2 separate regions of the Homo sapiens genome follow, and region 1 is linked to region 2. The links are contacts of gene promoters, found by promoter capture Hi-C in blood cells and fetal thymus (Javierre and others, 2016). All regions are on one chromosome and are shown on one strand. Each heading gives the region's core, a stretch centred on a gene start or on the middle of the fragment in contact. The rest is flanking DNA. Distances are from core to core; before and after follow the strand shown. Region 1 overlaps DYSF (dysferlin). Region 2 holds the start of SPR (sepiapterin reductase).

Region 1 (4,435 bases), core at 87-2,586, 1.4 Mb after region 2:
CAGTAATGATGTAAATGCACGTGGCACACAGCAAGCATTCCACCAACCTCAGTCTCCTTCCCGCTCTCCCCCACCTCCCGGTTAAAACATAGTACAGTAGTAACTGAGGTCTAAGCTGGCCACTCTGTCTTTAATAACATGCAGGTGTTCATTCACCCAGCCATTAGCTACTGAGTGAGTACTAGGTGTCTGTATGGTGCTGAAGGGCAGGGGATATGGCAATGAATAAGGGGATGACATGAATAAGCACCCTGTTCCCATGGAGCTGACTATCATGCAGGGAAAACACTTTCAGCAAACGAATCCAATAACATGTACTGTGTCTTGTGGTTGGAACAGTAATAACAAAAATCACATCCCACATGCATTGATGTGTATGCACTCTCTCATTTAATCCTCATAGCACCCCTCCCTTGAATGGGTCTCAAACTTGGCGGCACATTAGAAACACCTGGGGAAGCCTGGGCGCCGTGGCTCGCACCTGTAATCCTAGCACTCTGGGAGGCCGAGGCAGGCGGATCACCTGAGGTCAGGAGTTCAAGACCAGCTCGCTAACATGGGGAAACCCTGTCTCTACCAAATAATACAAAAATTAGCCAGGCATGGTGGCATGCACCTGTAGTCCCAGCTACTCAGAGGCTGAGATGGGAGAATTGCTTGAACCTGGGAAGCAGAGGTTGCAGTGAGCCAAGATTGCACCACTGCACTCCAGCCTGGGCAACAAAGTGAGACCGCCCCCCGCCCCCACCATCTCAAAAACAAAAAAGGAAAAGAAAAGACTCACCTGGGAAACCCAGGTCACACCCTAGACCAATTAAAACAGAATTTCTGGGAGAGAGTACCCATGCAGCAGTGGCTTGTAAAGCTTCCCAGATGATTCCAACTAGCAACAGAGGCTGAGAATCAATGTCTTCTAGACCACTGCTGTGCATTCCAATTAAAATGCAGGTTCTAGTTCAGCAGGTGTGGGGTGGGGCCCAAGATTCTGCATTTCAAAAAGTGTCCAAGTGATGCCCACGCTGCTTGCCCACAGATGTTGCTCTGGGTGTAAGACCTAGAATGCCCCCACTTTACAGATAAGAAAGCTGAGGTGTAACACAGGCTGGAAGCAGAACCCACGTGCTTGGAGAGCACAGAGCAAGGGGGCTTGTAACTATACTGAGGTGGGGTCAGAAATGCTTCCCAGCTTGAGACCTGGATGATGAGCAACAGGTGGAGGCATCCAGACGAGGAGGCAACTCATGCAGAGGCCCTTGCACATGGGGAAGTCGGCAGCTGGAGGAACAGACAAAAGATCTGGTGGCTGCTCTTGGGCTAGCGAGCAGCGAAGGGACAGGAGAATAGCAAGGTCAGGCTGTGCCCAGCAGCCAACTCCTTGGACAGTTGCCTGGACTAGCCTCACCCCATTTCTCACTCAGTCACACTTGACACGTAGAAACCTGCTTCAGGATCCTTGCTGCAAAACCCTCAATCCCAGAATGCCCATATCACAGCATGCCCAAAGGGATGTGTTCTGCGTTTATTCTCCTCAGCTCATATCAGAAGAAAACAATCATCTTTCAGGCATCCATAAAAATGTCTATTCCCCTAGACAATAAGCACTGACTGAGCACCTACTGTGTACAAGACCTGCCGTACTAGGCAAGAGGGGAGATAAAAGATATCACATTTGCTATATTGTCCCCATCATCAAGAAACTGAATCTCAGTGATGAAGACAGACACATAAACTGATTAGACTACCAAAGGGCTGGGTGGTGGCCCAAAGGAAAGACCAATACATTTTCCTGGAAGACGAGGCAAGCTTCAGGGAGGAAGTAGCATCTGAACTGGGTCTGGAAGAACAAATTGGCTCTTGGTAGGCAAAGAGAGGGAAGGCATTCCAGCAGGGGAAAAGGCTAGAGAGGGATGGAAGAGCATTCTGGAAAGAGTCACATCATCTGGTGTGGCCACAGACGGGGCCCATGAAGATACATAACAGCAAGTGGGATTGGGAAACTAGGCTGAGGGCAAATGTCAAGGGCCTTGAATGTCATGCTAAGGATCTTGGACTCTATCCTAAAAGCAGTGGGAAGTCACTGGAGGTTTTGTAAGAGGAGACACGCGTGATTCTACCTGGGTTTAAAAGTGATGACTGGCGGCCAGGCGCAGTGGCTCACGCCTGTAATTTCAGCACTTTGGGAGGCCGAGGCGAGTGGATCACAAGGTCAGGAGTTTGAGACCAGCCTGACCAACATGGTGAAACCCCGTCTCTACTAAAAATACAAAAATTAGCTGGATATGGTGGCGCACGCTTGTAATCCCAGCTACTCAGGAGGCTGAGGCAGGAGAATCACTTGAACTCGGGAGGCGGAGGTTGCAGTGAGCCGAGATTGCACCATGGCACTCCAGCCTGGGTGACAGAGCAAGATTCTTTCTCAAAAAAAAAAAAAAAAAAAAAGATGACTGGTGATAAGGTGGGGATAGGTGAAGTATAACGTAAGAAGTTAGGAGACCTCAGAGGACACTTAGGATGGATGGCAGAGACTGCTAGTTGTTCCCCCAAATCCAGTCTTTTCTGCCTCCCCTAACAAACCCTCAATTTTTAGCTGGACAGCATTAGGATGGACTTTATTTCCCAGGCTCCCTCGTAGTTAGATGTGGCCATGTGACTAAGTTCTTGTCAATGGGACCTAAGCATAAATGTGTACAACTTCTGGATCATGCCTTTGAAGGAAGAGATGTGGCCTCCATTGTCCTTTACTCCCATTTCCCTGGCTGGAATACAGACATGGTGATGGGAACTGGAGCAACCATCTTGGGCCATGTGACGGAGGCTGCATGATGATCACAGTGGAGAAAAGACCAGGAGCCTGGGTCTCTGATCATTGCCGAAGCACTGTGCCAATTCTGGACTGTGGCATTCATGAGAGAGAAATAAACCTCTGTCCTCCTTAATGCCTATTATTTGGGGCATCTTTGTTACACCAGCTGAACCTATATTGTAATTCACAAAGAGACCCAAGTGAGAGAGAGTGGGAGCTGGACCTCAAACTCCTGTCTTGGGATGGGAAAAAGAAGAGGCGTACACTGAGGTTTTCCACCAACAAGACTGGCCAACTGCTTGCATGGGGATTGAGGGGTAAAGAATGAAACTCTGGCCTCTGGTTTGGGGGACTAAGTGGATAATCATGCAATTTCCTAAGATGTCACCTAATACGGGATGGGGAACAGGTGTGGGGAGTGGGCAGCAAATGATACAGGCTTTGCTATAATAAGTTAGATTTACTATAATAAGTTAGAGGGGCCTAAGGGACATGTTAATGTGGCCTGATGACAAGGCAACTGAAACTGAGCGTCCAGAGCTCAGAAGATCCAGGCTGGAGAAGAGCAATTTACAAGTCTCAGGTGGTGTCTGAAAGAGACGGACTCCTCAACAGTGACGGGCAGGACACAGCAAGGGAACAGGGACTGAACTGCAACATCGAATTTGAAGAACCCACTGGAAAAGGAGCAAGGAGAGTCATGAATACTAAGGGAGGAGACAGTTTCAAATAAGGCGTGGGCTCCAGAATCGAACGCTATGGAGCAGTGGTGCAGTCTAACAACAGAGGAGAGCTCCTAAGCTATGGTAATGAGTGACCCTTACACCAGTGGCTTCAGGGAGGGGAGGTGGTGGGATTCCTACTGAAGAGGAGAAGGAATGAGCAGCTGGCAATGGAGTGGAAAAAGGGGGATGCAGTGCACCCTTTCAAAAGTTGGTGATGACCAGCAGTAGGAGAGAGAGAAAATAGTAGTGGAGAGGAGGGGTGGGGAGAAATGGGTCAAGGAAGGGGTGTTTTAGGATGGGGAAATCTTGAGCCTGGTACAGATCATGGAGAAGGAGGCAGAGGAGACAAGTGTGAGAAGAGACCAGAAAGAGGAGGCTAAAGAAGACAGTGGAGGATGTGAAGTCATGGCCAAGGAGGTGGTGGGATAATGCAGCGGGAGGGGCGGAGGAAGGGAGGGAAGGTGGATGAAGATGGGGGGCAAGTTGAGGACCACAGGAGCTCCCAGAGCTCTCACCACTCATCGCTGTGCAGCTCTGCCTCTCCAAGGGAAGCTGAGGTTGGAGCTTAGGAAAGGGAAGAAAGTCTGGGAACAGCCAGGAGAGATAAGGAGTAAGGAGATGAGGAGAATTAGATAAGGAGTAAACTATACCCAGGTAAAGGAAGAGGCGGACAGCACCCGGGGCCCAGCTAAGTGGAGAAGTAGAAACCCACATTCATCCAAGCAGCACGTCCAGGTGGCCAAGGAGCCAGTGTGTGGTGAGGATGGGGGAGACACGAGGCATGGCAGGAGACCCCAGGGGCCCTGTCCTCCTCTCCCTCCCTGCACAAAGCCATCAGCCATATTCAGGTACCTCACCCCTGACCTTCACCTCACCCCTGACCTTCAGCACTCCTGGCTTGCCCTCA
Region 2 (6,502 bases), core at 3,153-5,652:
AAGTTCTATTCCTGGGGATAGAGACACCAATACCCATAACCTCTCTCCTAAGCCTCCTTATAACCCAGGGTGCACAGCACAGACTCCTGACAACTGGTAAGGCCAATGACCTGGGAGCTCACAGCTGGCTGTGCCTGAGGGCAGGGCAGCAGGCATGAATGCTTCTATGTGTAAGGCAGGACTGCCCCTATGGCAGGGTGTGGGGAGCCACAGGGCTCTGGGGTATGTCTAAAAGTGGGGGCAAAAAGGTTCAGGAAGCCAAAAACATGGGCTTATTTGTCATAGAAGTCCACGTGGGCTCCAGACTTGAACTCGTCCTTTTCCAGTAAGCTCAGCAGTTTCTGGGCTGACACCTTGCAATCCACCAGCTTCCCCTTTGCCTTCAGCTCCTGCAGCCCTTTTCGCATGTCTGGGTCCACGGAGGTCTCCCGGGCCAACTGCTGCATGTCTGTGTCCAGAGGACCTAGAGGATGAAAAGGAGACGATGAGGGAACATGGCCAAGGCAGGGACAGAAGGTTTCAGGTCCCTGTTTTATGTCGGGGGTGGGGCTGAGTCAGGTCTGGCCAGAGGAAACACGTCATCTTGGCTGAAATGTGTGGTCAGGGTTGCCAAAGGCTCCAATTTGTCACCATCAAGTTCTGGACTGAAATTCAAAAGCCCACTGAACATGGACCCTCTAGACTACCATGTCTAAAACCAAGATTCTCATCTCCTGTCCAACCAGCACCACCTCCTGACATTCCCATTTCTATTAATGAAGTATTCTTTTCCCAGACTCAAAACGTCCATCACTTCCTCCTTCCCTCCCCCATCGTCCCCAGAGCCAACCAGGCACCAGGTAGGACCCTTCAGCATCTACACATCCCGACAATCAGGCCCTTTTTACAACCTTGCTTCTCTCCCTGCCTCAGCTCCTTCTGTAGCCCTCTACTAAACTCATTCTACTAAAACATCACTGGGGCCCAGCTGCAGTGGCTCACACCTGCAACCCCAGCACTTTGGGAAGCTGAGGCAGGAGGATCACTTGAGGTCAGGAGTTTGAGACCAGCCTGGCCAACATGGTGAAACCCTGTCTCTACTAAAAATACAAAAATTAGCCAGGTGTGGTGGCACATGCCTGTAGTCCCAGCTACTGTGGAGGCTGAGGCACTAGAATTGCCTGAGCCTAGGCCAAGTGCAGTGGCTCACGCCTGTAATCCCAGCACTTTGGGAGGCCGAGGCGGGCAGATCATGAGGTCAGGAGATTGAGACCATCCTGGCTAACATGGTGAAATCCCATCTCTTCTAAAAATACAAAAAATTAGCCGGGTGTGGTGGCGGGCGCTTGTAGTCCCAGCTACTCGGGAGGCTGAGGCAGGAGAATGGCGTGAACCTGGGAGGTGGAGCTTGCAGTGGCCGAGATCGTGCCACTGCACTCCAGCCTAGGCAACAGAGTGAGACTCCATCTCAACAAACAAACAAATAAACAAACAAAAACATCACTGGGATCACAACATTCCTCCGCTCAAAACCCCTCAACAGCTTCCCAGTAGCCTGGCCTAATACTCAAGGCATCCTAGTCTGCCCTCCTCTGGGCACACCTACTCTACAGGCAAACTGAAGACCTGCCACGCCCACAGTGAGCCTTCGCACCTTTATTTCCTTTCATCAGGAATGCCTTCCATCTGCCAACAACCAAGGTCAATGTCCAGTTCAGCTACCTCCAATAAAGCCATCTCTAGTCTCCCCACCTAAAGGAATTGTTCCCTTCTTGAACTGTTGCAAGCACGTTCTATTCTTCACATAGGAATCACTCATGCACCCCAATATTTGCAGTTAATGGTCCTCGAGGGCAGAACATCAGAGAATTCCAGGGTTGGAGGGAGAATTTATCTCCTGGTCCTTGACTATTTTCCAATGACCTGTGCATCCCTGCTGAGAGAGGACTTGCTGCCTTTCCAAACAGCCCATTCCATCTCTGAGCACCTGTTAGAACATTCTTCCTGAGACCGAAATGAAAACCAGACTGGCCTCTGCCTTGGTTCAGGCCCTGGGGACCTCCTGAAAATCTCAGCTCCCTCATAATGCCCAGGGCAGCCTCCTGAGACCAAACGCAGCCATGTGGACTTCTGGAGTCTGCTCTGCTCCTGGTTGTAGCTTACATTTGGTCACTGTTGTTTGTGCGAATCCTTGGGCTGAATTCAGAGTGGATGATGAGTTGAATGTTGGTTGTGAGAATAATTGTGCATGTGTGTTGGGGGGCAGGGGTGGTAGGGGCTGGGGTACTGGAGAACATGAGGAAGAACTTGAAAGCAAGGTGGGATCCAGCCCTGCCACATCTGTGCTTTGTGCAGGCCATTCTACCTGTCTGCCCTGGGAGCCTGACCCTATTCCCCAGGGACACAGGCTACTGGATTTCTGCCCAAGTTGCTCAGGCTTTCCATGGCTGCTCTGTCACCACCTTCTGATTGCAGCAACCTCAAGCCTAAAAGAGACTCCTCACTATTAAGACAGGGGCGCTGTGGCATCAGAAACTAGACCCAGTATCACAAGACTCCCTGTCCTTTGGCGTTCATGAGAGCAAGGGATCTATTCTATTTATCCCAGAATCCTCAATAGTGTTCCAGCACAGTTCAGCCAGGGATGGTCAGCACTCAACAAAGTCTGTCTGCTCTCCATACAGCTAGCATGTCCTGCAGCTTGCCTTAGTGTAGTGCTTTGCTAGGTGTTAGGAACACACATCTGCATAGTGCAAAGGCTTTCCTGTCAAGGGAGGGAAGGAGGCAAGCAAACATATGCAGACAATACAGTGTGGTCAGTCCTATTTAACAATGAGGCAACACTTCACAGGTCAGGGTCATTTTCACATACAGTATCTCATTCAGTCTTCCCAAGTGCCCTGTGAGGCAGGGAGCGTCTTCCCCATTTCACATGAGGAAGGCCTGGAACTCAAACCCCAGTCTTCTCCCAAACTCCATCTAATACCTCAGACCTTCCTGCCCCACCCTCCAGTCCAGGAAACTCCTCACTCTCTACCAGTATCCCCGGCCCCTGCCACCTCTATTTCCCCTGGGTCTGTATTTCCCCTAAGGGGTGATGGGTCAAGATTCAAGGACAAAATCCTGTGGGTTGTTTCCTGGAGGGGGCGGACTAGGCCGCTTGCCCAGCCCCCAGAGGCGCACCAGTGGGTTCTGGAGGACAGGGACGGCAGGACTTCCCACCTACCTGGGGCATAGTTCAGCACCCTCACATTAGGTTCCTCCAGCGCCAGGACCTGGAACAGCATATCACGAGCAGCCTTTCCTGCACAGTACAGCGCCCAGCCTTTGAAAGGTTGCAGGGCACAGAGGGACGAGATGTTAACCACGGTTCTGTTGAGGCCAGGACTGTCCGGGAAGGCCTTCAGGACGCTGGAAGTCAGGCAGAGCATGGAGGTCAAGTTCAGTGCCCAGTAGTTGTTCACTTGAGTGGAGTCACTCAGGTCCACGAAGCCTTTGGACACATCCCCAAGAGAGCCTGAAAAACCAACCCTTAGGAGTAACTCAGTGCAGGCGGGGCTTTCTTCTTCCCCAGCCCTCCCAAGTTCCTCCAGATATCCTCTTCCCATGCAGACCTAGAGGAGGAAGCTGCCTAGCGCTTCTGAAGAGGCTTCTCTCTTCCCCAGCTCTGCGGAAAGACACAGCTGGGGAACCTAGCCATCCCAAGCTGCAGAATGAGAAGGCACCTGCCTTGCCGTGGGGCTGAAGGAAAGCTCTAGCGGTCCTTTGGAGAAGCAGAGAGTTTACTTGTTTGGAGACTCCAAGCCCTGACTCAGGCCTCCGCCAGAGGGCGCAGAGCAAGGGGCTCGGGAAAGTTCTACAGGCGCTTTGGAAAACCCGGCTGGCCAATTTTCCAGGAAGTGGGGGCAGACTGTTGTCCCGACGGCACCGAGTCTTCCTGTACACCTCGCCTCCACTTGCTACTCAAGCTGGAACAACTAGGGCTTTAGATTTCTAGGCGTCCTATCTGACCCCTAGGAGTAGCCCTTAAATTCCCCAGCGGTGGAGGAAGTGGGCGCTCACATGGGGAGTCCGCTCCAGCCCCGGGGTCTTACCCGCGTTGTTGATAAGCAGCAGTCGCTGCAGCCCCTTGGGCCGGGGGAGCTCGCGCAGGGCGCCGAGCAGCTGCTGCAAGCCGGCCTCGGCGCCCAGGTCGGCGGGCACCCGCACCACGCGCAGGCCAGACCGCTCGGCGCCCAGCTCGGCCTCCAGCTGGCGCAGTGCCTCGTCGTTGCGGGCGCTAAGGACAAGCACGGAGCCGGGCGACAGCAGCGAGGCCAGGAGCGGGGCCAGCGTCCGGCCGAAGCCGCGGGAGGCCCCGGTCAGCAAGCACACAGCACGCCCCAGCCCGCCCTCCATGCTCCTGTTCTCCGCCGGCGGCGCTGGCACCCGAGACCAGGCAGGAGGCGGTGCGGCCGCGGGGGGCGGGACCGCTACGGGTGTCGGCGGGGCCGCCCTGCCGGGGCGGGGCGGGAACCTCAGGCTTCGGGCCGCGAGCGCCCAGGGGTGCTGGTTCCCTTGGGATCTGGTTCCCTTGGTTGCTGGTGGCGGAAGTCAAACCGTGGCGGTAGCCCAGTCCGTGCCAAGTGGGACAACAGAGAGGGCCGGCAGGCGCGGCCCACACGGAAAGCCCTAGCCCGGTTCCCAGCGCTGCCGTGTTCTTCGCCCGCAAGCTCAGCCTCCGGCTGGGACGCATGCTCGAATTTCCTCCCAGTTCCAGCCCTAACTTTGCACTACTGACCTCTTCCAGGGCAGGCCCTGCACTGGGTGCTGGGCGTCCCTGGTCGTGGCCAGTGAACACCCTGAATGAAGCTTATGCCTGTTTAGGAATTGAAGTCTCTGCTTGTTTGGGAGCTCACCGCTCTCTGGATGACAGGAGCTTCCTCTGGGAGAACCACAGTGGCTCCAAATGATATTAAAACCTTTCCCTTTTACTAGGCCCTGAGCAGCTCCGTGATCCCACCAGTAACCCCTGCTTCTCTGAGATTTCTGACTCCTGTCCCTAAAAGTGTGTTCCCCAGGATTCTGCTCCTGCTCATGCTACAGTCTCCCTGGCAGCAATTCCATCCACTTTCAGCTTCAAGTTTGCGCAATCATCTGTCTGTACCTCCAGGCAGGTGCTTCAGAAAAATCCACATTTTTTTTTTTCTAGGAGAGGAGGAACGTGAGACAAGTTGGCATGCAGCTACATATATTAAAAAGGAATCTCTTCATGGTTTCCTTCTTAGTGGCCGAGTGGTATTCCATTGTGTATATACATATGTCCAAATATTGTGTGTCAGTTTTTAAAAAACGAATCTCTTTAGAGTTTAGCAAGGGCAGTAAGTAACCTCTGATAACTTAGCCCAATTCCCCACAGGGCTGATCCCTCCCCTGGGGCTAAACAGCAAAGTTACCGCCTTTCCACTATTATTGCCAACTCTAAGGAAGAAACAACTTGGAGGAAGGCTTTTTTCTTTTCTTTTTTCTTTTTTTTGACAGAGTCTCGCTCTGTGGCCCAAACTGAAGTGCAGAGGTGTGATCACAGTTTACTGCAGCCTTGAATTCTTGGGCTCAAGCAATCCTTCCACCTCAGGCTCCTGAGTAGCTAGGATTACAGGTGCGCACCACCACGCCTGGCTAATTGTTTTTTAAGCTTTTGGTATTTTAACGCTGATAAGACTCTGTATATGTGTATACCATTTGAAGTTGCCCTGCTTTTCACTTACCTATTCACACTGAAGATAAAGATCTCATTGGCCCAACAGCTTACTATTTAAAGAATTTTAATAGCTTCTCCCTGCTCTCCAGGCCTTAGAAGACAGGTTGATGAAAGCACGATCCCATCCATCCATTCATTTGACATTTGTTAAATTTCTACCATTTGCCAGATTTTTGAAGAAAAGGAGGGAACAATGAAGGGATGGCAAAAAATCAGACCTAGACTCTTCTGAACCTAGCTGCTTCTAGGAGGAACCACTTGGGAACAGCCCCTAAGGAGAACGTGGTTTTCCTATACTAGGAGAGGGTCTGGAAAATTCTTCTTTTCTGAGGAAGATGATTATCTGCTCTCGCTAATTTTTGTGTTTTTTTATAGAGATGGCTCTTGCTGTGTTGCCCAGTGTGGTCTTGAACTGGACTCAAGCAGTTCTCCCATCTCAGCCTCCCAAAGTGCAGGGATTATAGGTGTGAGCCACCCCACCTGGCCAACAGTAACTCTTTTAAAAAGATACAAATGCCTGAAAGGTAAGAAATGTGTAAAAATTGTGTTAAAAACATAAGCCTGATAAAGGACATGGGTAGGGGAATGGGTGAAATTTGAATAAGGTCTGTAGGTTAGTTATTGGCATTGAATCATTTCCTGACTTTGACCAGTGAACTATTGTTATATCAGAGAGTGTTCTTGTTTTTGGAAGTACACAGAAGTATTTAGTAAAGGGGCATCATATCTGCAACTTACTTTCAAATGTTTCAGAAAAAAATTAGAATGAATAAGGCAAAGGTA

Evidence for each region. Contacts are between HindIII fragments. The CHiCAGO score rates a contact against its expected background, and 5 or more counts as called.
Region 1: a fragment that was not itself captured here is called in contact with the fragment with the promoter of SPR in region 2 in 1 of 17 cell types (M1 macrophages); the score reaches 5.8 in M1 macrophages.

Annotation. Positions count from the first base shown.
Region 1 is chr2:71,521,548-71,525,982 of GRCh38, reverse strand. All of the region lies in intron 12 of DYSF (dysferlin), which reads right to left. Among named protein-coding and RNA genes, the nearest start is that of DYSF, 57 kb to the right of the region's middle. The HindIII fragment of the contact is 938 bases long and covers 868-1,805 here.
Region 2 is chr2:72,885,308-72,891,809 of GRCh38, reverse strand. SPR (sepiapterin reductase) reads right to left here and starts at 4,402. Exons shown (of 3, transcript NM_003124.5): 1 at 4,074-4,402; 2 at 3,206-3,496; 3 at 1-463. The coding sequence starts at 4,377. The coding sequence ends at 273. RefSeq lists silencers at 3,348-3,522, 4,161-4,550. The HindIII fragment of the contact is 9,789 bases long and covers 1-4,832 here.